Linked DNA regions of Homo sapiens: all the other regions are linked to region 1. The links are contacts of gene promoters, found by promoter capture Hi-C in blood cells and fetal thymus (Javierre and others, 2016). All regions are on one chromosome and are shown on one strand. Each heading gives the region's core, a stretch centred on a gene start or on the middle of the fragment in contact. The rest is flanking DNA. Distances are from core to core; before and after follow the strand shown. Region 1 holds the start of RBM47-AS1 (RBM47 antisense RNA 1). Region 2 holds the start of NSUN7 (NOP2/Sun RNA methyltransferase family member 7). Region 3 overlaps APBB2 (amyloid beta precursor protein binding family B member 2). Region 4 overlaps NSUN7 (NOP2/Sun RNA methyltransferase family member 7). Region 5 overlaps APBB2 (amyloid beta precursor protein binding family B member 2). Region 6 overlaps NSUN7 (NOP2/Sun RNA methyltransferase family member 7). Region 7 overlaps APBB2 (amyloid beta precursor protein binding family B member 2).

Region 1 (3,307 bases), core at 646-3,145:
GCAGAGACAAGGTTTCGCCATGTTGCCCAGGCTGGTCTCGAACTCCTGGCCTCAAGCCATCCTCCTACCTCAACCTCCCAAAGTGCTAGGATTACAGGCATGAGCCACCTCACCCAGCCTCTGAGTTATTAATTGTTATAATTATCATTATAATTATAAATTAAAATTATTATAAATTATAATTACTATTTGATTATAGTTTTAAAAAGTAATCTTAGGCTAGAAGTTCCTAAGTTCCTTTGAGCACAATTTTGGAACTCTGATTTGCAAATTTTGTAACAGAAATTAGAGCTAATTCCTTTATAAAAATCCAGGAAGAAATAATTATTTTAATTCACCATTTCACATATGCTGAATTGTTTATTTTGAAGATGTATTAACATATAGGGAGACCATACCAGCATTTACTACCAGGCATTCTATGGCTCATGAGGTGCACCAAATATTTTGTTAAATGAATGTTTTATTTTATTCAGAATCTCTTTTCAATGAAGCATCTCACAGAACTAGTTCCATGGCAAACACTTTGGGAAATACTGAACCACAGTCTTCCCATTCATACTCCTGTTTGTTCTGAAAACATCTTATGTTGCACTTTCAAGTAGACAGAAGGAAGTAGCAGGGGCTTTTCTAGAGCCAGTGGTGGCCGTCAACAGTTCAGGCAACTTTACTTAGCTTGTCCTTGCCCACTTCTTCCTCATTTGGAAACTGCTCTTTATCCTTCAAAACTCAGCTCGAATATCCCCGCTGCTGAGACATTTTCTCCAACTTCCCCATTAGTTGGTTCTTTCTCTAAGCTTCTACAACAATTTGTATACATTAATGGTGTCATCTCTTAGGTGGGAGGTGATGGAAACCATCACATTGGCTGAAAATTGTGTATGGTCACAATTTTTTAAGGTCACAGCTTAAGAAGCTGTCCCTTTGGAGATCAGTATATTTGGTTTCTCTAAGTTGACACAGTCTGTTCCTCTCTCTGTCTCTGAGACAGATCATATTCCATCAGTTAAGTATGAGTTGAGGCAGCTGGCATGTATCTAGAGGCCATGTTTAAGGAAAAACACTGATTTTTAATTACTGTGAAATCAATTGTGTGGATGGTAGATTCTCCGCTGCCTTCTCTAGCTCACTCTGGGGCATAGACTGATTGAGTGGAATGGTAAGTAGAAGATTCCGGAATACAGTACAGAGAAGGTCCTCCTTATCCGCAGTTTCTGCATCTGGATTCAACCAACCGTGGCTTGAATAAAGACAATAAAAAATAACAATACAACAATAAAAAAATACAAATGTCAAAATACGATATAACAACTATTTACATAACATTTGCATCATATTAGGTATTATAAGTGATCTAGAGATTATTTTTAAAGTGTATGGGTCCCAAGACTTTGGGAGGCTGAGACAGGAGGATTGCTTGAGGCCAGGAGTTCAAGACCAGCCCTGGGCAACATAGTGAGACCTTGTCTCTATGAAAAAAAATTTTTTTACAGTATACAGGAGGATGTGCATAGGTTAAATGCAAATACGCCATTTTCTCTCAGGGACTCGAGCATCTGAGGATTTTGGTATCCACGGAGGTCCTAGAGCCAATCACCTGTGAGGATACTGAGGGGCAACTGTATTTCACCTTTCCCTCAGCCTTCCAGGCCTCTCACTTTCACAAGGTGGCATCACTGAGTTTGAGGATGCAGCTCCACCTTACCTCTTCAGTGGCTCTTCTCCCACTTGCTTACAATAATTGCTGTTTGCCCGCCCCTCTGCCTTTCTCTCCCTTGCTTTTGTGTCTTTGTATTCCCGTCTTCTGGGAGAGGCTTGTTGAATGAATGGATGATAGGTACATACACGTGTTCAGGAAGGCTCCTTTTTGTCTCTTCTCCTCAGGGCCGCCCAATAACTCCAGTATACACGGTGGCTCCAAACGTTCAGAGAATTCCTACTGCCGGGATCTACGGGGCCAGTTACGTGCCATTTGCTGCTCCAGCTACAGCCACGATCGCCACACTACAGAAGAACGCGGCAGCCGCGGCCGCCATGTATGGAGGATACGCAGGCTACATACCTCAGGCCTTCCCTGCTGCTGCCATTCAGGTCCCCATCCCCGACGTCTACCAGACATACTGAGGCTGGTGACCAGCACGAAGACAGACCACACAAACACCACTGAAGGAACGCTTGACTATTTATGAAGAAGGAACATGTTGGATTCACACATGCAACCTGAAAGTGAAGAATGTTAGCAGATTTATTTCTGAATTATTTTATATACATGAAGTTTTCACTAGTTTTTTAAGACTATTTTCAACTTAGCATGCCTACGTTCATACATTTCCAAAAGACTTGCAATGGTTCGTGCCTTCATTCCATCTTTTAAAAATTTGTATGCTGTACTACATTTGTATAGAGGTTTTTGTTGTTGTTTTTTTAAGGATATATTTTCAGTATGAAGGTTATTTTCTTAACTTCTGCACTCCAGAGATTTCTATTTTGTAGTACCTTCAATAATATATCAACTATATATTAAAAAAGCACACTTGAGGAGCTAGGGAACTATTTTGAAAAATATATACAATATTTAAAGATACAAACAGTAGTGCTTAAAAATACTACATAAAGCATTATTTTAAAGGTTATACTGGAAAGTGCAATTTTAAAATGAGTAAAACCTCTGTATTTCTGCTGGCATTAAGGGTTGATGGTGTTACCATGTATCATCATGGCGGTACTATTTTTTAAAAGAAATTAAACACTGGATCTCTCCTTAAGCCAACATTGAAAAGACTTGCCGCACTTCTGAGTCCAAACACTGGAAAGCTCTCCTTTGCCACCGTTAGCCGGGGCTCATTCTCCATGTGCCTTAGCCTTAAACATGCCCCCACTCCCACATCTCTCACCCTGTCCCCTCCTCCCCAGATTCCCAATCCCACCGCAATGTTTGGCAAGCCTAGGACTGATAAGTAGCTCTGATAGAGGAGCTGGTGGCTTTTATACTTCTTCCTGGGTTTTTGTTGGGGTTTGTTGTTTCGTTGTTTTTTGTTTTTTTTTTTGTTTGGTTGGGGAAGTATTGTCTTCTACGTGTGCTATTTTCAGTAGCAGAGTAAGCACAAGGTTTTAATCGAGTTGCATAAGACACCTTTGCATAGCTATTTAATTGCCCAATGTAAAACTTTAATGCCATTTCTAATGCTTTTATTCATTTTTGAAGTATGAGTTTGTAGGGACAAAGAATGTATGTTATCGTAGACAAGACCCCCAGAGACTCTTTTCAGCAGAAAGTTATGCTTCTAGTTGCCTTACCATGTTTCTT
Region 2 (3,507 bases), core at 752-3,251, 320 kb before region 1:
GACACCATCTTGGCTCACTGCAACCTCTGCCTCCCAGGCTCAAGCGATCCTCCCGCCTCAATCTCCCAAGTATCTGGGACTAAAGACATGTGCCACCATACTGGGCTAATTTTTAAATTTTTTTTTGTAGAGAGGAGATCTCACTATATGCCCAGGCTGGTCTTTAACGCCTGAGCTCAATCAATCCTCCCACCTTGGCTTCGAAAAGTGCTGGGATTACAGGCCTGAGCAACCACCCTTGGCCTCAGATTGATAACTAACCATCCTTGAGTCTCAAACCCTGAAAGCAAATTAGAAAGGGAAGTTCTACTAAAGTTTGGCTCCTCCCATTAAAGCTAGTGGCTATGAATGGGATAGTCTTAATTGGGGTTGGTGTAATTTTGATATTCATTTTTTAAATTTTGCACCTTTTCTTTTTATTCCGTCTCTGTTCCTCTCCCCATCCTCCCTCACTGGTTTTATATTTGTGAAAGCTCATAAACTAAAATACCAAAAAAGGTAAACACAGGGAATGGAAAGAAATACACAGGGAGGCCAGGCGTGGTGGCTCACTGCCTGTAATCCCAGCACTTTGGGAAGCTGAAGAGGGAGGATTCCTTGAGGTCCAGAGTTTGAGACCAGCCCAGACAATAAAGCGAGACCCCTAAGTCTACGAGGGAAAAAAAAATACAGGGAGAGGGAAATGATCATTGGAATAAATTGTTTCCTTGTTGAATGTAATGACCGCGCACTACACCGATCTAAGGACAAACACAGTGCACGGGGAAATCTGCAATCCTGGGCTGGAAGAGCTAGTTTCATGGGAACCCTAATTCCTTGACACTTGCAATTAACCAAAGATATGCACATGCCTAAAACCAAAACCTGGTGTGAATGAGGGGAAGGGAGGAGGAGGGCTGCATTCCCCAAATTCTCTCGCTATTATTTTCTTTTAGTGTTGATCTTCCAGACTGGCACAACTCACATTTCAGGGCACTGAAAGCCAGCTCATAAGACAAACGCTGAAAGGACTGATCCTCAGACTCGGACAAGGACCGCAGGGGTTCATTCCCATACTTGATTAAGACTTTCTGTGCCGACTTTTCGATTCGAATACCCTGAAAAATGTTGGCTGCCATGACATAAACGGAGTCCGGATAGCCCGTTTTTTCGGGCACACCAGCTGAGCTTTTCCCACCGGACAGAGGCAGGGAAGTGAGTTGGGAGATGATCTCGGGATCTTCTTCGTTCGAAAACTCCAGTTCGCCCGTGGAATTCAGCATGTCTGCCCCTCGCCTGTCGTGAGTCCTTCACCCTGGGGTTAGAATTCCGATGTTCCAGGAAACGGCTTTCCTCGCATCTGCAGCATGGTCTCTGTGAAGAGAGAAGGTGATTGCAGTAAATCACTCTTTCTGCAGCACCCCTGTGGGTGGCCCCCTTCGTTGTGGCCTTAAAGACTAAGAGGGAGCATTTCCCGTCCCATCTGAGTGTCCCAGACTTCGAGCCTGGGACGCTCAAAAAAAAAAAAAAAAGCGAGGAGGGGTGCAGCGGCGGAGGGAGAAGAGCCCCAAGGAGACCGACGGCTTCCCTCAAGCCAGTCTGGGGGCAGAGCTGCCCCCGGAGCCCCGTCCGCGTCCCCACAGCCCAGTCACCGGCTCCCCCGACTCCTCCCTTACCCCGAGGGCGGATGGTTCCCGGGGCTTCGGGGACGAAGACGCGGAGGGCGGCGTCGGTCACAGGCCCTTGGGAGCCCCGGGACTGCGGGGCGACGGCTGCTGCCCGCGAAGGCCGTTTGGTTCAAATGCAGCCACTCCCACCGGCAGGATTCGGGGCAGGGGGGTCGCAGCCTCTGGCGCCCGGTTCGCTCCGGTGTCGTGAAGTGGTGGGCGCCTCGGGGCCTCGCCTGGCCTCGCGCGTGAGGCCTTCGCGGACGTGGCGGCGAAGAGGGGTGAGCGCGGTGCCCGGGGTCTGGCTGGCTCAGGCCGAGGAAAGCTCAGCCTCCCGAGTCTCCGGCAGTCGACTGCTCCCGGACCGGGTCTTCATGGCAACCGCGAGCGGAGGTGGGGCAGGGGGCGCGGCGCGAGGGCCGTTCCCGCGGGATTTGGCGGGTGCTACCTGTTGCCGGGAGAGTCGCTCTTCCCCCAGCGCGCGGAGACACCTGTTTCAGCCCCTCCGAGCCAGAGGCCTCTTGCACAGTTCCTGGACCTCACCGGGCCTGAGTGCGTGCCCTTGGCTTTGTTTATAAACATTTGGGGATATTTTTGAGGTAGTCTGACGTAGTTCCGTGGTTTTAACTCACAAGTTCCTGAAGTCCCTGTTAAAACTACACATTCTTTAAAATATTTTTAAAATATAGTAATAATTTTTTTTTTGAGACATGGTCTCGCTCTGTCGCCCAGGCTGGAGTGCAGTGGCGCAATCTCGGTTCACTGCAGCCTCCTCCTCCCGGGTTCACGTGATTCTCATGCCTCAGCCTCCCGAGTAGCTGGGACTACAGGCGCCCGCCACCACACCCTGCTAATTTTTGTATTTTTAGTAGAGACAGGGTTTCACCGTGTTGATCAAGTTAGTCTCGAACTCCTGACGTCAAGTGATCTGCCGGCCTTGGCCTCCCAACGTGCTGGGATTACATGCGTGAGCCACTGCGCCGTCTGTAATAATTTTTTTTAATAACAGAGACAGGGTTCCCATTATGTTGCCCAGGGTGGTCTCGAATTCCTGGGCTCAAGGAGTCCTCCCTCCTCGGCCTCCCAAAGTGCTGGGATTTCAGGCGTGAACCACCGCCTCCAGCTAAAAAAAAATCCTTGGAACCCATCCTAGAGATTTGAGTTGCTAAGACCCAGTAATTTGCATTTTTATCAGGTAACTGGCGATTCTGATGCAATCAGCCCAAAGACCACAGTTTGAAAAACTCTGGTATAGTTGAAAGACAACTGGTCCTAATTCCACCTCTGCCTTTCCTCCTTAGGGATTTGCCCTTCCTTCTTTAGGCTAAGGCCATTTCCATTTCCAGCCAGTGGTTAGTAGGATGAAGGGGAAAGAGAGGGCAGCCCATATTTTTCAATGACCTGAAAGGTGCACATATCACTTTGGCTCACATTTTATTGGTCAGAACTCAGTCATATACCCAGCAACCAAGAGGCTGGTAAATGTGTCCAGCTAAAAATAAGGGAACTATTACTGTAGAAGAAGGAGAGAATGGATAATGGGGAAAAAATTAGCAGTACAGAACTCTAACCCTGACCCCTTCTCTCAGAAATCCACCCACTTTCATTATCCCCGGAATACGTTAAACATTCCGTAACATTTTATGTATACATGCATTCATTCGTTCGTTTAACAAGTATATATTAAATTCTTGCTGTGTCCCTGGCATTGTGTTCAGCCCTACAAGTAAAATAATGAATGTATAGAAATGATCAGACACCTGACCGGGCGCGGTGGCTCACGCCTGTAACCCCAGCACTTTGGGAGGTCGAGGCGGGCGGATCACGAGGTCAGGAGATCGAGACCATCCTGGCTAACACG
Region 3 (3,056 bases), core at 214-2,713, 420 kb before region 1:
GTGGAACCAAAAGTCCAATGGGGACAGAGAGAGAAAGGCAGAGCAGAGGCTACCTCCAGTGAGGGATGGGGTCCTGAGCAGAGCCAATTAACTGGGAGGGAGCCAGGCTCAGGTGCTAGGTGCCCCAGAGCTACACGGCAGGAAAGAGCCCAGCCAGCAGGCCTGTGTTCTGTTTGCAGATCTACCACCTGCTAGCTGTGGGCTTTGGAGCAAGTCAACTTAAACTCTCTGACCCTTCAATTCCTCATTTGTAAAATGAGTCGTGATGCTTCCCCCTGCAAGGTTATTGTGTGGCTTGGCGACAGTGCGCAGCAAGAATAGAGCCTGGCTAGACAGAAGCAATCATAGCCAGGAGCCGCTACTGTTACTTGGTTAGTGGTAATCAGCCTTCCTAGGGTTGGTGTCTGCTTTTCTTTAGATATTATTGAGTTTACATTATACCAGAAATACTTGTATCTAGATGGAAGTTAACAAAATTCAGGACTGGGCATAGTGGCTCATGCCTGTAATCCAAATACTTTTTTGAGAAGCTGAGGTGGGTGGATTGCTTGAGCCCAAAAGTTTGAGACCAACCTTTGCAACATAGTGAGACCTCATTTCTACAACAAATAAAAAATTAGCCGGGTATGATGGCAAACACCTATAGCCCCCGCTACTTGGGAGGTTGAGGCCGGAGGATTGCTTGAGCCAAGTAGTTTGAGGATGCAGTAAGCTATGATCGTGCTACTGGACTCCTGCCTGGGCAACAGAGCGAGATCCCATCTCTTAAAAAAAAAAAAAAGCAAGCAAAAACAACAAACAATTCAAATGAAGGCCATATGTATTGGCTTTCCATGTTATCTACCCTAGTACTCCTTTGAACTGGCACAAAGAAAGCCCCTTGAAAATTCAGAAAGTGATTCACCATATCCACAAGAGGTCCTCCATGTGGCTGGGTGCTCACCGTGGTTTTAAGTAGGAGGCTTGTCTGCACCTTGCCAGGAGTTTGTACCCTCATGGCATTCTGGCATGGAAACCACTGTGCTGTCATTTTCCCTGCTCAGAATCAGTTCTAAATCCTTATGCGTTCCTGTGCTTTGTCAGATAGGAGCCTTCTGGTGTCAAGGTGTTTCGTGTTGTTTTATTTTTTTGAGACGGTCTTGCTCTGTCACCCAGGCAGGAGTGCAGAGGCACGATCTCAGCTCACTGCAACCTCCACCTCCCGGGTTGCAGTGATTCTCACGTCTCAGCCTCCTGAGTAGCTGGGACTACAGGTGTGCGCCACCATGCCTGGCTAATTTTTGTATTTTTAGTAGAGACAGGGTTTCGTCATGTTGGCAGGCTGGTCTTGAACTCCTGGCCTCAAGTAATCCACCTGCCTCAACCTCCCAAAGTGCTGGGATTACAAGTGTGAGCCACCATGCCTGACCTGGTATTTTTTATTTTTGTTTTACCATCTTGGCTTTCAGAAAGGAAGCTAACCCATGGTTTCACAGTTCAGGTAGAATTTATATAACGTTATCCTTTCATTATACCCTAAACTTTAAAGTTGAAACTGGAACATGGTGTAAATTATCTCTCACTTAATAACTAACTATAATTTGTGTGTGTATTCTTCTCTCAGATATTCAGAGATGCAAGATTTTTGCATTTGGTTTTTTGTTTTTTTTTTAATCTGTGATATAGCACAGATGAAAGCTGAAGCTCGTTAATTCTTGCTTAAAGTCTTCAAAGATGGACTTTTAAAAATACTCGTTTCCTGGTTGCTTTTAAATATCCTTTTTCCCTCCTCCTCATTAGTAAGCAGGCTGGTAACTATTGTGTCTTCCCTCCAATGGCATGAGAAAGTCCTTTGTTTAGAATAATGTGCCTTGAATTTCAATAACCTCAACCACTTTAACTCCTGGCTTTACACTTCTAAGTGCTGGAAGTCTAACTTTCCCATCATGGCGCTGCTGGGCAGGACAGTGAGGTGGGAGGGGAGCTTGCTTTGGAAAGGAAGGCACACTTGGTCAGAGACGGTTGTTCATGTCACCGGTTGATCCTGGGAAGGATAGAACCTTTCCCTGAGATGAATTCTCTAAATATCAGCCAGAAATCAGATGGTAAATTTGCATAAATTCAGTATTCATTTCAGTTCAGAGGCCTTTCACCTGCGGCATGTAGATTCTAAAGGGACCTGGGATTGAGTTTCAAGAATCACTGAACTGTTCCAGCTCTGCCCCCTTCCAAAATTGTGTATAAAATTGTGAGTCTGTGCACTTTTTTTTTTTTTTTTTTTTTTGGAGTGTTTTCATCCGAGGGCCTTGATCCAAAACAGGTCAGGAACCTTTCCTTTCTCCTCGTGGAGCTCCCCTTCCCTCTCTCACATAGTGATTGGCCTGGCCTGCACTGTAAGGCCATACTCAAGCCGCCATCCTGTAGGAGCTTTATATGGATTAAATAATGGAATTTTATGGCACTCTCAGGACCTGAAGGCCTCTATGATTCCCATTTCACAGATGAAGAAACTGAAAAACAAAGAGGCTAAGGGCCCTGACCAAGGGCAGACAGCTGATAAATGACACACACACACACACACACACACACACACACCCCACTCACACCCACCCACCCACCCACCCACACCCACCTACCCACCCCTGAAGCTGGAGGGAAAAAATAAACTGTCAGACTCAGGAGCTGGTGCAAGAATTTTCATGATGTAAAGTTTTGCAGTGTTTACTTCATTGTCCTGTGGATAATGGTGTGATGTGTGCTCAAAAGGCTAGAGAGATGGCCAGTGATGAAAGACAAACATCAAAAAGAAGCATGCAACAGAGACTTCTGCAAAAATGGAGTGAGAAGTCTACTGGCAAGTCCTTGCCTCGCGTGCTCAGTTTGTGAAAAGTGGACAGTTGTGCGCAGCATGAGAAGTAGGTGGCTGTGCCAGGGAACAGGAGATGGCGTCCTCTTCCAAAAAGCTGGAATAGACATTGTCATTCTGGTGTGCTGGTTTTTTTTTTTTTTTTTTTTTTTTTTTGAGGAATTTCCTTTTCATTTGGATTCCAGTTACACATGCCAGGTACTTCTGTTAT
Region 4 (3,178 bases), core at 643-3,142, 350 kb before region 1:
CCACACACACATGAGATAACTGAATCACTGAGTCTCATGTGTGTCTTATGACCTCTTTCATATCCTTTGTCTCCCCATGCTTAAGTCTAGATATTTTCTTCAGGCCTATCAGTTCACTCATTGTATCTTCATTTCTGTGTAATTTACTGTAAAATCCATATCTCATTTATTTCCTAATTTCACACATTGTATTTTTCAGTTCTAGAACTTTCTTTTAGCTTTTTTGATTATAGTTTCCAGGTCTTTGCTAAAATTCTAAAATTTGACATTTAGTCCCTCCAGCTTATTAATCATAGTTATTTTAAAGTGTACATTTTTAGTCAGGTGCAGTGGCACCTGCCTGTAATTTCAGCTACTTGAGAGGCTGAGGCAGGAGGATTGCTTGATCCCAGGAGTATGAGATCAGCCTAGGCAACATAACAAGACCCTGTCTCAAAAAAGTAAAACTAAAGTCCACGTCTGATAAATCCAGTATCTCCAGATACACTGTGGGTCTGCTTCTACTGCAGTGCTTTCTGTTTTAGTCATATCTTTTCTTGTTCTGTCAGTGTTTTATAAAATTGAGTGGTAGATATTGCATTAGAAAAAATTTAGAAGATACAGGCCGGGTGCGGTGGCTCACGCCTGTAATCCTAGCACTTTGGGAGGCCAAGATGGGTGGATCACCTGAGGTCAGGAGTTCGAGACCAGCCTGGCCAACATGGTGAAATACAAAAATTAGCGGGGCATGTTGGCGAGTACCTGTAATCCCAGCTGCTCAGGAGGTTGAGGCAGGAGAATCGCTTGAACCCGGGGGGCAGAGGTTGCAGTGAGCCAAGATGGTGCCAACTGCACTCCCGCCTGGGCAACAAGAGGGAGACTCCATCTCAGAAAAATAAAAAAAAATTTAAAAAAATGAAAAAAATTAGAAGATAATTAGAAATGTAGGATGATGTTGTTTTCCTCCAGAGGGAATTTACTTTTGCTTCTGGCAGGCAGCTAAGACTGGGCACTAGCAATCCCAGATCACCTTAATCTAATTGGGAATTAAGATGACTGGAATGGGGGTTCTAATTCTTTGGAGGACTGATCACTATCCAAGATGTACTTCGGGACTCCAAGTGAAATCCTGAGTATTTACCAGGCTACCTCTCCTGGTCAAATCCTGAATTCCACTTTTTGTCTCCCTATCCCTGTGAATCTGTTAAAAGTTTTGCTTAGTTTTTCAGCCTCGCTGAACCTATAATAAAATGTAATCTTTAGTTAGAATGATCCAATGGAAACATTTTTAAAAAACAAGAAGCCTAAAAGACAGCTCCTAGGCCAGGCCTGGTAGCTCACGCCTCTGTAATCTCAGGACTTTGGGATGCCCAGGCAGGTGGATCACTTGAGCCCAGGAGTTTGAGATTAGCTTGAGCAACACTGCAAAACCTTGGCTCTACAAAAATTAGAAAAATTAGCCACGCATAGTGGCATGAGCCTGTAGTCACAGCTACTTGGGAGGCTGAGGTTGGAGGACCTCTTGAGCCCAGGAGGTAGAGGCTGTGGTGAACTGTGATCATATCAGTACACTCCAGCCTGGGCAACAAAGTAAGACTTTATCTCAAAAAAAAAAAGACTTAGCTTCTAGTCCTAGATATTATCTTTGTCACTTAAGCACTTATTTAAGTATTTATTAAATGATAATCATTCTTATTTATTAAATGATACATTTCTACTTTAAATGTTTGAGCCTCAAATTATGTGAGCTAAATGTCAAACAGTATTACAAAGTACCAAGAAATTAATTTAACCCACAGTTGTTTAACCAAATTAAGCAACAAGGACAGCCTGATAAGACATAGATTAGTAAGGATTTTAAGATATTAGTTCACATATAGAGCTTTTACATTACAAAAAAACTAATAAATTAAAACTTTTTAACGTTTCTAAAATCTTGCAGAACAATAATCACCAAATGAAGAAATATTTTTACATACTTTTACATCCTATTTTTGTGAAAAGGGTCTTCAAGTCAGGATCCTTAGCTTGTGATTGTACTCCACACACAAATACTTTTGAGGTATTATTATTTGTTAAAATTGACATGTGGGAAACTGTGTACCATGAGCCTGTATTGACCATTAAGACATCATCATCCATATTTAATAAAGCCTTTACAGAATGGACAGCAAGACTTCGAGATTTGTCCTGTAAGATAATGGTATGATTAGAATTTCAAAGGGTATGGCTAGAAATATAAGCTGACTTCTATTTGCTTTACATAAAAGAAAGTACCTCATAGTAATATTAGAGACCTAACCAATTTTAGTTTTAACATCTTAATATATGTCTAAGTAAAGAGTTAACAAAGACAACTGATGTTTAAAACAAAGAGCTTAACTTTGTTTAGCCTAAATTATGACTGTTACTGTCTAAGTTTTGTATAAAGCAATGCCAGAATCTCTAAAATATGGTCAACAGATTAATGATGTCCTATCTTAACTCCCATTCTTACCCCTTCACAAAAACCCACTCATCTACTACTTCCATTTTCTCTTCCCCATTACCTTGTCACCTAAATTGCCACTAGCTCACAGAGATTAAAATTAATATATTTGAGAAGCTCATCAAAGGGGGCTTGACAGGTTGGGCTTCTGCAGTTGATCTCAGTGCTTGATATGGTAAGAGATTCTGCCCAAGAATATGAATGTGGAAAAGGGATAAACCTTAGAAGATCAAGGTATATCTGAGGCAATAATTGGAATCTAAGGATGTAAAAATGAATTTAAACTACTTTTTTATACCTTTTATTTTCGTTCTGTTGAAACTACATTATACCTCACATTCTCTTCCTATATTGATAGCCTTTATATACCTCTTACAAATCAAAGCTATAAGACTATATTAAAGAAATTATGAAAAACTATTACAATTGTTTTTTCATATGCAAGATGGCACTAGCATCTTCCCCAGAAAGGGAAGGAAGAAAAGGTCTCATTGTACTTTCTCTTGAATTCTCCTTTAGGGGAGAAAAGTAGAACCTTACAGCTGCCAGCAATGCAAATCTTCCCATTCATGGAATCTGGGAGAAGAATATGTTCTTTATAAATTCACATGAGACAAAGACGCCAACCAGATGCACTGATTGTAGAGGTATTAATTTTATTCAAGGTGACAATTAGGCCTTATAAACCTCCCTGATAATCTATAAAAATAT
Region 5 (3,102 bases), core at 474-2,973, 490 kb before region 1:
ATTGCATTGTCATGGAATAAGTTTCACAGAGATTGCGTTTTGCATGTGGAATTATAACCTAGATACAGAATAAACCTGAGTCTCTGGTCCATTCATCTCTGTTAAAACAAGAAGGTTCATAGGGAGAGTTAACTGATCACTCTGTTTTTAAACCTTTGCCCTGTGGATAAAAAGCACACAGCACCCTTGGTAGAGGATTCCTTGTTTTAACATCTCTTTTTCTTAAGAAGTTCACCATTACTGTTCTGCAAATACTCCTCATCATTCCAAAGCTTCTACTTCTTTGATATCCTGTAGAAGGGCAACTCTTGGTTGATATTTTCCCAACTCATTCAAATACTTTAAGATAACCCATTCCCTCTCTGATAAAATTGACCTCAACTCCCTCTACCTTTATAATTCACAGAACTCATGTTGCTTTAATTATTTTTGGTGTTTTTTTCTCTGGATAGTCTAAATTTTCTCATTGGATGAAAAAAATTCATTGAGAGATCTTAAGTACTGGTTATCTGCTTAGCACTTACCTAGGTATTGTGGGATATGAAAAAAATACACATGGGGACCCTGACCTCAGTGGCTTGTCAGGGGACCGTAGCAGGTGGTGGGATGAGTACTGTGGACAGAGGACCCCACTGTTCACCCGTCTCTGCTGCTTCCAGCCCGGGAGACCTTGGGCAAGTCACTTCCCTTTCTTTGATGGGCCTCATCCATCAAGCTGAAGACAAGAAATCTTGGAGTTCAGCTCTAAAAGCCAGGTTCTGGGGCTAGCTGGGGAGCTGGAGTTCACTTAGAGAATAGCAGAATATGAAGGTGAAGAGATGAGCTACCATCTGCAGTTGGAGTTCAGATTTGGGATCAATAAACTTCTGCAGGGCCTCAAATCACTAGACCCACCCCAGGTCCATTCAGAAGACAGTCCCAGTTGTCCCACAGGTGGCAGTAATGAGCCGCAGTCAACACAGCACAGGAGTTGCCGCCCTGACTTGACCCTGAGTGAGAGCCCTGGCCACTTGAGGAAGCCTGCAGAAGTCTGCGGTGCAGCAGAGCCCAGGGACGTGGTATCATGGCCTGCAGGCTGTGTAGGCTGCATGATACGAAGTCCTCCCCTCTTCCCTCTGACCTTCCCCACCACAGACTCCACACTCAGGTCTCCCGTTCACTGCATACTTCTGCCCCGTCACCATCTCAAGGCTTCACAACAGGATCTCACCTGCGGTTGCTTCTCTTGGAATTTTGGGAATCCATTGCCTCGCAACATCCTCTGGGTCCCTCCTTGTTTTTGTGTGATCACCAGGGTCGGTCAGTCATGCTCGCTCTCAGAATAGTTTCTAGTTTCTGGACCTCCTGGGCTTCCTTCAGTTTCTCCCTGTCTGTCTTTCCTGGTGGCCACGTACACACAGGGTAAGACATGATTGCACAGAGACACGGGTATGTTACCTACTTGGAACAAAATCCAACCACATAAGTCTACATGGGCCAAATTGTTTCTTTCAAAGGGAAACATATCTTCTTGCATTTTGAAAATCGCAGCTCAGCCAATACTGAGGAACAGTTGCCAATCTCCATGTGCAGAACGGGTGGGAAGTGACTATCTTAGGAACATGACACATGCTTCTGGAACAGGCTTGCCAATGACAGCATCCACTTTTTGCCTTCTTGTGAGCAGAAGCCACAAGGGAGCACTTCATTCTGTCTGTCTGTCTGTCTGTCTGTCTTCAGGTCTAGCCTGAGAGATGTCTCCTCCTCAGATACCTTCTCAGCTCTGGGGTTAGGTTTCTAGCCTTAATTCCAGTCTGTGGCTGACTGTGGTCTCCTTTTTCATGTCTCAGCTCTGTGCACATACATTCCTCCCCGTAGGAATTCATCATATCTAATTTACAGCAAATTCTTTAGAACAACTACCTAAAATGTTTTCTCTTCTGCAATTACCATGCCTATCTTGGCAGAGAGTTTCTTTGTATTTACTTCACCTTTGCATTACACACTGAGTTCCAGTCGGTCAGGGACCATTTCCCTGAGTGTTGGGCAGTTACCAAAGAAACTCTTTAAAGACAGACTTCACTCACACAGGGCCCAGGACCCTGCAGTGCCAGCTCCACTCCCTCAAGGCAGAGCTTCCTTCTTATTAGTCACAACTCTGGCTAATGCTCTCAGGACTTGGATTTACTCATTCGTGAAATGAGATGGCCGGGTTCCGGGGTCCCAGAGCCCTTGTGTTCTGGGTCTCCATGCTGTGGTTAAATGCTCCTCCCCCGAGAGCACAGTGCAGAATCCCAGGAGTCAGCCTGGAGAGCTCAGACTTCATAAATCTTCTCTCTGGGGTTGGGAACAGCCGTGCTTTTAATTGAAGTCTTTGTAGGTCTTTGCACGTTATGAACTCACTGAGTTCATTTCAGACACTTTGCAAAAAGTTGCAGACTTTTCATTTCTTGGTGACTGGTACAGTAAAACCTTTCTTAGAAAACAACAGTGAAAAGTGAAATTAGCCCTGAAGATAGTTATCAGTAACTTTTACTGAGTACCAGGTATTGTTTTAAGGCCAACTTCGCAGATATACATTCATTTAACACTCACTAGGATCAGGCTCTGCGCTCCGGGGCTGAGGATACTGCAGACCAAGTCCCTGCCTTTGTGTAACGTACATTCCAGGGTGTGGAGAGAGAACCACACAAGTGGAATAAAAGTACATCAGGTGAAAAGACTTACTATGGAGAAAAACAGCAGGGAAGAGTGTGAGCGAGTGCCAGGAGGAGTAGCAGCTTTAAGTAATCAGGGAGGCTTCCCAGAAGGTGACACTGAGTACGAGATGAGAGAGGGAAGCAGGTAGATTGGGAGGGTGGGGGGAGCCCATGGTGATGAGTCCTTAGTGGATGAAGGATTGGCCTGGAGGCCACTGTGCCTTTAAGCCAAAGGAATAACCAGTGGGGACAAGAGTCGGATAAAGTGTTTGAGAGGTATTTCACAGCAGGCAATGTCCTGAGTTATCTTTTAGCCCAAACCCTTCTCCCTCCTCAACTGCCCCCTTCCCCTCTCTTGTCAGATGACTAAAATGAGGTCTGAGTAAATCAGGTGACATCCTGAAGGTTCTAGTCAGTAGCAGAA
Region 6 (3,103 bases), core at 510-3,009, 370 kb before region 1:
AAGTGATTCTTGGTATAATTCCCTAGGTAATGCATAATTTCTTTTGGCAGCATCCCCAACAAGTAGTTATAAACATCTTCAATATATGTACTCTCCAATTTGAGCTCAAATCTCAAACCAATATAGAATTATGGATTCTGTCTTTATATTACTTGTGTCTTTTATGCTATAGATTAATCATTAATCATGGCTTGCCTAAAATAAAATCAATATTCCTCCACGTTTGCCATATCATATTCTTTTTTTTTTTTTTTAAACACACAGGGTTTCACCATGTTGCCCAGGCTGGTCTTGAACACCTGAGGTAAAGGTATGTGCCCACCTCAGCCTCCCAAAGTGCTGGGATTACAGGTGTGAGCCACCGCACCAGGCCAGCCATATCATTTCTTAAATCCCAGCACTTTGGGAGGCCAAGGCAGGTGGATTACCTGAGGTCAGGAGTTTGAGAGCAGCCTGGCCAATACGGTAAAACCCCCATCTCTACTAAAAATACAAAAATTAGCCTGGCGTGGTGGCACTTGCCTGTAATCCCAGCCACTTGGGAGGCTGAGGCAGGAGAATTGCTTGAACCTGGGAGGCGGAGTTTGTAGTGAATCGAAATGGTGCCACTGCACTCCAGCCTGGATGACAGAGCAAGATTCCATCTTTAAAAAAAAAAAAAAAAAAAAAAAAAAAAAGAAAAAGGCCCTATGGAATCTTGGTTAAATTTGTAAGAAGTCAGGCAATTTTATCATACTAAAGTATAATTTTAAAAAGTAGAATGTCTTTATACAACTTAGAAAATAATATTTTTCCTTTTAAAAAATATTTGTTTGAGTTGTTTAGAAGAATCCTTCCTTTTCTTACCTGTAAGGTTGTCCTTTATTCCCAAGGTCTTGAAATTCCAGTGCTTTCTTAACAACAGCTTCATTTTCTTCTGGAAAAACTGAACATGTGCAGTAAACAACTGCTTGAGCTTTAGTAACTATATTAGAAGAAGATGCAATGACTGTAACAACTATATTAACAATCCTATACAAATGTGCTATGTTTCCAAACATCTATTTGATACTAATACCACATGGTTTTGATGAGAATAATTTCCCCAGATGCTTGAATGGCTCCCCTTTAAAGTAAAAGCTTGTCTTAGTAATTTAGTCTGTGGCCAGTAAGTAAAGTCACTCTAACTGGATTGTATGGAAATTGAAAATTCAACAAAAAATGAGGCCAACTTAGTTATAAACACAAATAAATAAATACTGCAGGTTACCATGAACTTGATACTTCTGCCCATTCTTCTACAAGCGATATTGCCTAAATAGTTTAAAGGACTCTAGAAACAGACAGACTTAGAGGTGAATCCCAGTTCTGTCACTTACTGCTGTATGAACCTGGGCAAATTACTTAAAGTCTTAAATTTTTCATCCGTAAAATGAGGTAATACTACCACCTGCAATTCACTCATTGATTCATACTTATTGAGCACCTACCACCTGCCAGACAGGCACTGTTCTAGGCTTTGGGATACAATAACACAAACAAAAATCCTTGCCCCTGTGGAGCTAACTTTCTAGTAGAGGAGAAAGACAGTAAGACAGAGATAAATAGGAAAACTATATAGTACTGTTAAGTGATCAATGCTATGGAGAAAAGCAGAGCCGGGTGAGGGATAGAGAGTTCCAGGAGAAATAGTGTGAAATAGAGCAGTGAGAGAAAGCATTGTTGAGATGGCAAACTGTGGGTAGACTAGATGGAGATAAGGAACCAGCCACAGAGCTATTTAGAGAAAAGCATTCTAAGGTAAAGGAACAGCCAGTGTAAAGGCCTGAAGTCAACATGGTGCTGGTATGTTCCAGGAAAGTGAAGGGGCCGGTTTGATCAGAGCAGAGGGAATGAAGAGAGAGTAGTAAGTCGAAGTCAGAAAGCATGGTCTGAGCCCCAGATAGTACAGGGACTTGTGGGCCACCGGAAGGGCTTAGGTTTTTACTTGGGTTATGATGGGTTTTAACAAGATCACTCCAATTGCTGTGTTAAGAATAGAGTGCAGAGGGCAGGGGCAGAGGCTGGCAGAGAAATTAGGAGGTCATTACAGTAATTCAAGTGTGAGGTGATGGTGGTTTGGACACCGTGGTAGTGGTGGAGGTAGCTGGATATATTCTGGATATAAGTTGAATGTAGAACCTACCTCATACACTGACAGACTGGCTGTGGGTATGAAAGAGAAATCATGGATAATGCTAACGTTTTTAGCCTAAGCGGGTGGAAGGCTACAACTATCATTAACTGAAATGGCAGTACTGTGGGAGGAACAAGTATGGCGGGAGGAAGATCAGAGCTTCCACCTTAGACATGTTAGCTTTGAGATGACTATGAGTCCCTAAGTGGAGATGTCAAGAAGGCAGCTGGAAATATAAGCTTAGAGTTTCAAGAGGAAGTTTAGACTGGAAATACAGATTTGGGAGTCACATAGAGGTGTTTAAAACCATAAGACTAGATACAATCACCAAGGGATAAGTATAGGCAGAGAAAAAAGATCCAAGGCATGGACTGTGGCACACTCCCATGTTAAACAGGGTGTTGAGACAGAGAGGACCCAGTAAGGGAGACAGAGAAGGGGAGGCCAGAGAGAAGGCCTGGAAGGTGGTGCCCTAGAAGACAAGTGATGGAAGTGTGTGAAGGGAGAGGAAGCGACCACTTCTGTCAACTGCCACAGACAGACCTAGGTAGACCAGGGCTGGCAACTGACACAACAGCATGGGGATCACTGGCGATCTTCACAGGACCGTTTCAGTTTAGTGGCAGGAGTGAACGTGTGATGGCAATAGCTCAAAAAAGAAGGAGAGGAAAGACTGAGGAAACACTGTTCCCAGGGGAAAGGCAAGTTACAGGAATTTTTTACAAAGGGGGAGGACATTCAAAGAAGTTAAAATATAGGGAATTTTTGTTGATGAGGAACTATAAATTCTAGAGAGCACAGAGTGAGAGATGTGGACAAAGGGATATGAAGAGAGTTATGGAGACCAGAGTATAGGAGATGAGGAATGACCTGGAGTCGGGGCCTCTTGAGTTAATTGTCATTAATAGGTGTAAAGGATATAAGGAGACATGTTTCTTATAACTTGAT
Region 7 (3,178 bases), core at 62-2,561, 460 kb before region 1:
ATAATAAGGACCACAACACATACGTATATGTGCATGTGCATGTGTATACAGTAATCGGTTCAGTGATAGGGACATGACAGATGCTTAATGAATGTTAGCCCTTGATTTTTAAACACACGCTAGCAGATGCAGCTAATGACATGGCTTCCTTTTAAAGACAGTGGAGGTCGGAGAGGAGTCAGACCGCAGGGAGACTTGAAGTACGCTTGATCACGTGATCTAGAGGATGAGCGGCTGTTCCAGACCCTAATGAGTTCAGTTGTCCTACAAAGCAGGAAGAGCTTCCTACTCCCTGATGAAATCAGTGTGAATTAGGTTACATTGCCTTGGTTATGTTTTTGAAACGTGGGCTGTATTACTCATGTTTTTAAATCACTTCTTATTCTCACTCAGTGTCAGCAGATGAGTGTAATTTCGAAATACGCTCAGGGTTCCACATAGCTAGCAGGACCTCAGCGAGATCATGGGAGGGTTCCACATAGCTAGCAGGACCTCAGCAAGATCATGGGGTTGTGGCTGCCTTCAGCTGGATTGGCATGGAAACGGTAAATTTTAAAAGTGTGTTTGCCAGTGAAAGGTTCTGTTTCTCCCCATTGGTCCCCTGAGTTTCCATTCCCCAGAAGAAGGGGTCTTTGTACTCCTGCTTTTTTTACTTTCCTTTGCTTTTGATTCCTTTTTTTTTCCTTAACAGCAATTTACAAGAGCAAATTCAATTTGTAATGTTGCAAAGGAAAGGGCTTTTCACTTTGCATGAATAAAACATTTTTGCTTGCGAAAAAGAAGCCCATTTCACATTCTCTTTTGTAACTTTCCTTGCTGAGAAAGTGGAATCTCTTCAGGGATTTCTTGATGTGGTTAAAATGAATAAGAGAAGTGTGTATTATACCAGACATGAAGGGCGCAAAATCTTTCTGCAAATCCAGAGTGCTTCCCTGAGCCACGTAATTTCAGAAATTATCAAAGTATTTTGGATGTGACATTTTCTTAAGGCTTTCAAGTGGTTTTGATTTACTTGGAAGAAATTCCTTCGGGAATGAGTTTACTTTGCATGAGGAGGTGATTGGCTATGACACCCCCACTGAGCCCCCCAGGGTTGAGTTGGAGAGACCTCTTACTATGAACAGCACAAGGAGTTGAGTCACATCTGATACCAGTCTTCTGTGGGGTTTTGGTTGTCGCACAACTATGCTGAAGGCTTTGTCTTGTTGAGAGCCATGTCTGTCTTTATTACGGTGTTTCTTGGGGCCCATTTGCTTTATTGCCTGGCAAAGTGAGGGCTGCCTCCTCTTTCTTGGCCATAGTTGAGTTTTGTTCCCTTTGATCAGTGAGGTAAATGTCACGGCCCCTGGAGATGGAGGCTGGGGCAAGGGGTTTCATGAGCTTTGTCTTTCCAATCTAGTTCAGCCCCAGGAGCACCCAGGTTGGCCTGCTTTGCTCCTGCCTGCTGTGCAAAGGAGGACGTACGCAGGTGTGTGCACTGGGCCTTAGAACTGGCATTTCTGCCCTTGGCGACTGAGGCCAATGACCGAATGCTCCCTTTCATCTTGTCTCTGTGGGCCTGCCAGGCTACTGTCTCAAAGGTGAGTTTGGAGGGATGTCCCTACCCAGTTTCAGGGACCTGTGCTAACTTCCGGCCTCAGCGTTCTTCTTATTCACTCAGACCCTGGCGAGCACCTTCCTCCTTATTCTTTTACAGAAGTACCAAAGCCAAGCAAACATAATTTCTTTTGTTTTTTTTTTCTCTTTTTGAGATGGAGTTTCACTGTTGTTCCCCAGGCTGGAGTGCAATGGTGCAATCTCAATTCACTGCAACCTTTGCCCCCCGGTTTCAAGCGGTTCTTCTGCCTCAGCCTCCCAAGTAGCTGGGACTACAGGCGCCCGCCACCACGCCCGGCCAATTTTTTGTATTTTTAGTAGAGACAGGGTTTCACCATGTTGGCCAGGCTGGTCTTGAACTCCTGACCTCAGGTGCTCTACATGCCTCGGCCTCCCAAAGTGCCGGGATTACAGGCGTGGGCCACTGCGCCCAGCCAAAACATAATTTCTGAACACAGGGAACTTGGAACAGGGACTCCCCTCTTGCCTCGTGGTTGATGGAGGCTTATCTTCTGGGTAGGGGCACAGAGATCCTTGTGTACTTCGCCAATGAGCCCTATAGTCTGCTCATCTCAGCCATTTCCCACAAGAAAGGAAAATGGATATTGTCAGAGGGTTTCAGACCCCGTAAATGGGATGTTTCCAAGAGGCTTCCCTATCAGTGATTAATCCACGGTTTTCCCTTGAGAAAAAAAAAAAGATTCTATAGTCACTTGGGAAACTGAGTTAAACCAAGTACACTGGGCCCTCTCAGAGGTTTTCCTACGCTGAGATGCACTAGGACTCTGCAAGAAAGCGTTTCCCAGGCTTGGCTGGACCGTTTCCTCGGTGGAAACACAATCACATGGAACACACTTCAGGAAATATTGCTGTCATTAGTAAACTCATTCATTTAAATTCGTGGCAACACTAAACTGCTATTTTTGATTATTAAGAAAAATTGGAATTACTTTTAATGAATATTATAAGTGGAGACCCCATTGGGCCTGCTCTAATGAAGATAAAATTTCTTCATAATGAATGGCAACTATGAGAAACACACTCACCCATCCAAACCCCAAGAATGGACTTAGAGGCACGAAGAACAGTGAAAGTGAGACTTTTTAATAACAGTCTTGCGAGATCGGGTATCTGGTGGGCAGGCACACCTGGGACAGTCACAACAGGTAATTTATCTCCTAGCACGCCAGTCCCTCCCCCAATTCCTCACTGGCCGAGTACTATGGGGCTACAATCTTCCTGGACATTACCTAAGTTTCATTATCCCCCTTATAAGGTTATACCTCATTCCCTTCCCCGCTTAATTTTCATTTCCCAATAAGAAAACTTTCTTCCCTTTAATGGGCTGACCCCTCCTCTACATTCTGTTAGCTTATTGTGACTTTCTAGGTGCATGAGCCATGTGGTTTGTTACATTTGCAGCCTGGCTGCCAGGACTTAGATTTATCATGCCTTGAAAATGGACCATTTAAAATGTTTTCTCACACAACCATCAACAGTCATGATGTGTGCAGTGCTTTTTAAACAGTGCTCTCTTATTCAGGTTCAGTGTTTACCCTGTGATGTTGCTTATGCTTACAGA

The links. Contacts are between HindIII fragments. The CHiCAGO score rates a contact against its expected background, and 5 or more counts as called.
Region 2: a contact is called between the fragment with the promoter of NSUN7 here and the fragment with the promoter of RBM47-AS1 in region 1, in 2 of 17 cell types (neutrophils and total CD4 T cells). The highest score is 14.9, in neutrophils.
Region 3: a fragment that was not itself captured here is called in contact with the fragment with the promoter of RBM47-AS1 in region 1 in 1 of 17 cell types (neutrophils); the score reaches 12.6 in neutrophils.
Region 4: a fragment that was not itself captured here is called in contact with the fragment with the promoter of RBM47-AS1 in region 1 in 1 of 17 cell types (neutrophils); the score reaches 7.3 in neutrophils.
Region 5: a contact is called between a fragment that was not itself captured here and the fragment with the promoter of RBM47-AS1 in region 1, in 1 of 17 cell types (neutrophils). The highest score is 6.2, in neutrophils.
Region 6: a contact is called between a fragment that was not itself captured here and the fragment with the promoter of RBM47-AS1 in region 1, in 1 of 17 cell types (neutrophils). The highest score is 5.9, in neutrophils.
Region 7: a fragment that was not itself captured here is called in contact with the fragment with the promoter of RBM47-AS1 in region 1 in 1 of 17 cell types (neutrophils); the score reaches 5.3 in neutrophils.

The regions. Positions count from the first base shown.
Region 1 is chr4:40,424,721-40,428,027 of GRCh38, reverse strand. It overlaps RBM47-AS1 (RBM47 antisense RNA 1), which reads right to left and starts at 1,895. Exons shown (of 2, transcript NR_199039.1): 1 at 1,846-1,895; 2 at 446-1,240. RBM47 (RNA binding motif protein 47) reads left to right here. Exons shown (of 7, transcript NM_001098634.2): 7 at 1,885-3,307. The coding sequence ends at 2,124. RefSeq lists an enhancer at 1,407-2,606. The HindIII fragment of the contact is 3,876 bases long and covers 800-3,307 here.
Region 2 is chr4:40,748,449-40,751,955 of GRCh38, reverse strand. It overlaps NSUN7 (NOP2/Sun RNA methyltransferase family member 7), which reads right to left and starts at 2,001. Exons shown (of 12, transcript NM_024677.6): 1 at 1,656-2,001; 2 at 965-1,353. The coding sequence starts at 1,262. The HindIII fragment of the contact is 13,723 bases long and covers 1-3,507 here.
Region 3 is chr4:40,845,534-40,848,589 of GRCh38, reverse strand. All of the region lies in intron 12 of APBB2 (amyloid beta precursor protein binding family B member 2), which reads left to right. Among named protein-coding and RNA genes, the nearest start is that of NSUN7, 97 kb to the right of the region's middle. The HindIII fragment of the contact is 8,965 bases long and covers 1-3,056 here.
Region 4 is chr4:40,775,040-40,778,217 of GRCh38, reverse strand. It overlaps NSUN7 (NOP2/Sun RNA methyltransferase family member 7), which reads right to left. Exons shown (of 12, transcript NM_024677.6): 7 at 1,959-2,169. Among named protein-coding and RNA genes, the nearest start is that of NSUN7, 27 kb to the right of the region's middle. The HindIII fragment of the contact is 8,749 bases long and covers 1-3,178 here.
Region 5 is chr4:40,914,926-40,918,027 of GRCh38, reverse strand. All of the region lies in intron 10 of APBB2 (amyloid beta precursor protein binding family B member 2), which reads left to right. Among named protein-coding and RNA genes, the nearest start is that of NSUN7, 170 kb to the right of the region's middle. The HindIII fragment of the contact is 2,897 bases long and covers 275-3,102 here.
Region 6 is chr4:40,796,648-40,799,750 of GRCh38, reverse strand. It overlaps NSUN7 (NOP2/Sun RNA methyltransferase family member 7), which reads right to left. Exons shown (of 12, transcript NM_024677.6): 10 at 847-964. Among named protein-coding and RNA genes, the nearest start is that of NSUN7, 48 kb to the right of the region's middle. The HindIII fragment of the contact is 1,275 bases long and covers 1,122-2,396 here.
Region 7 is chr4:40,885,051-40,888,228 of GRCh38, reverse strand. All of the region lies in intron 12 of APBB2 (amyloid beta precursor protein binding family B member 2), which reads left to right. Among named protein-coding and RNA genes, the nearest start is that of NSUN7, 140 kb to the right of the region's middle. The HindIII fragment of the contact is 6,616 bases long and covers 1-3,178 here.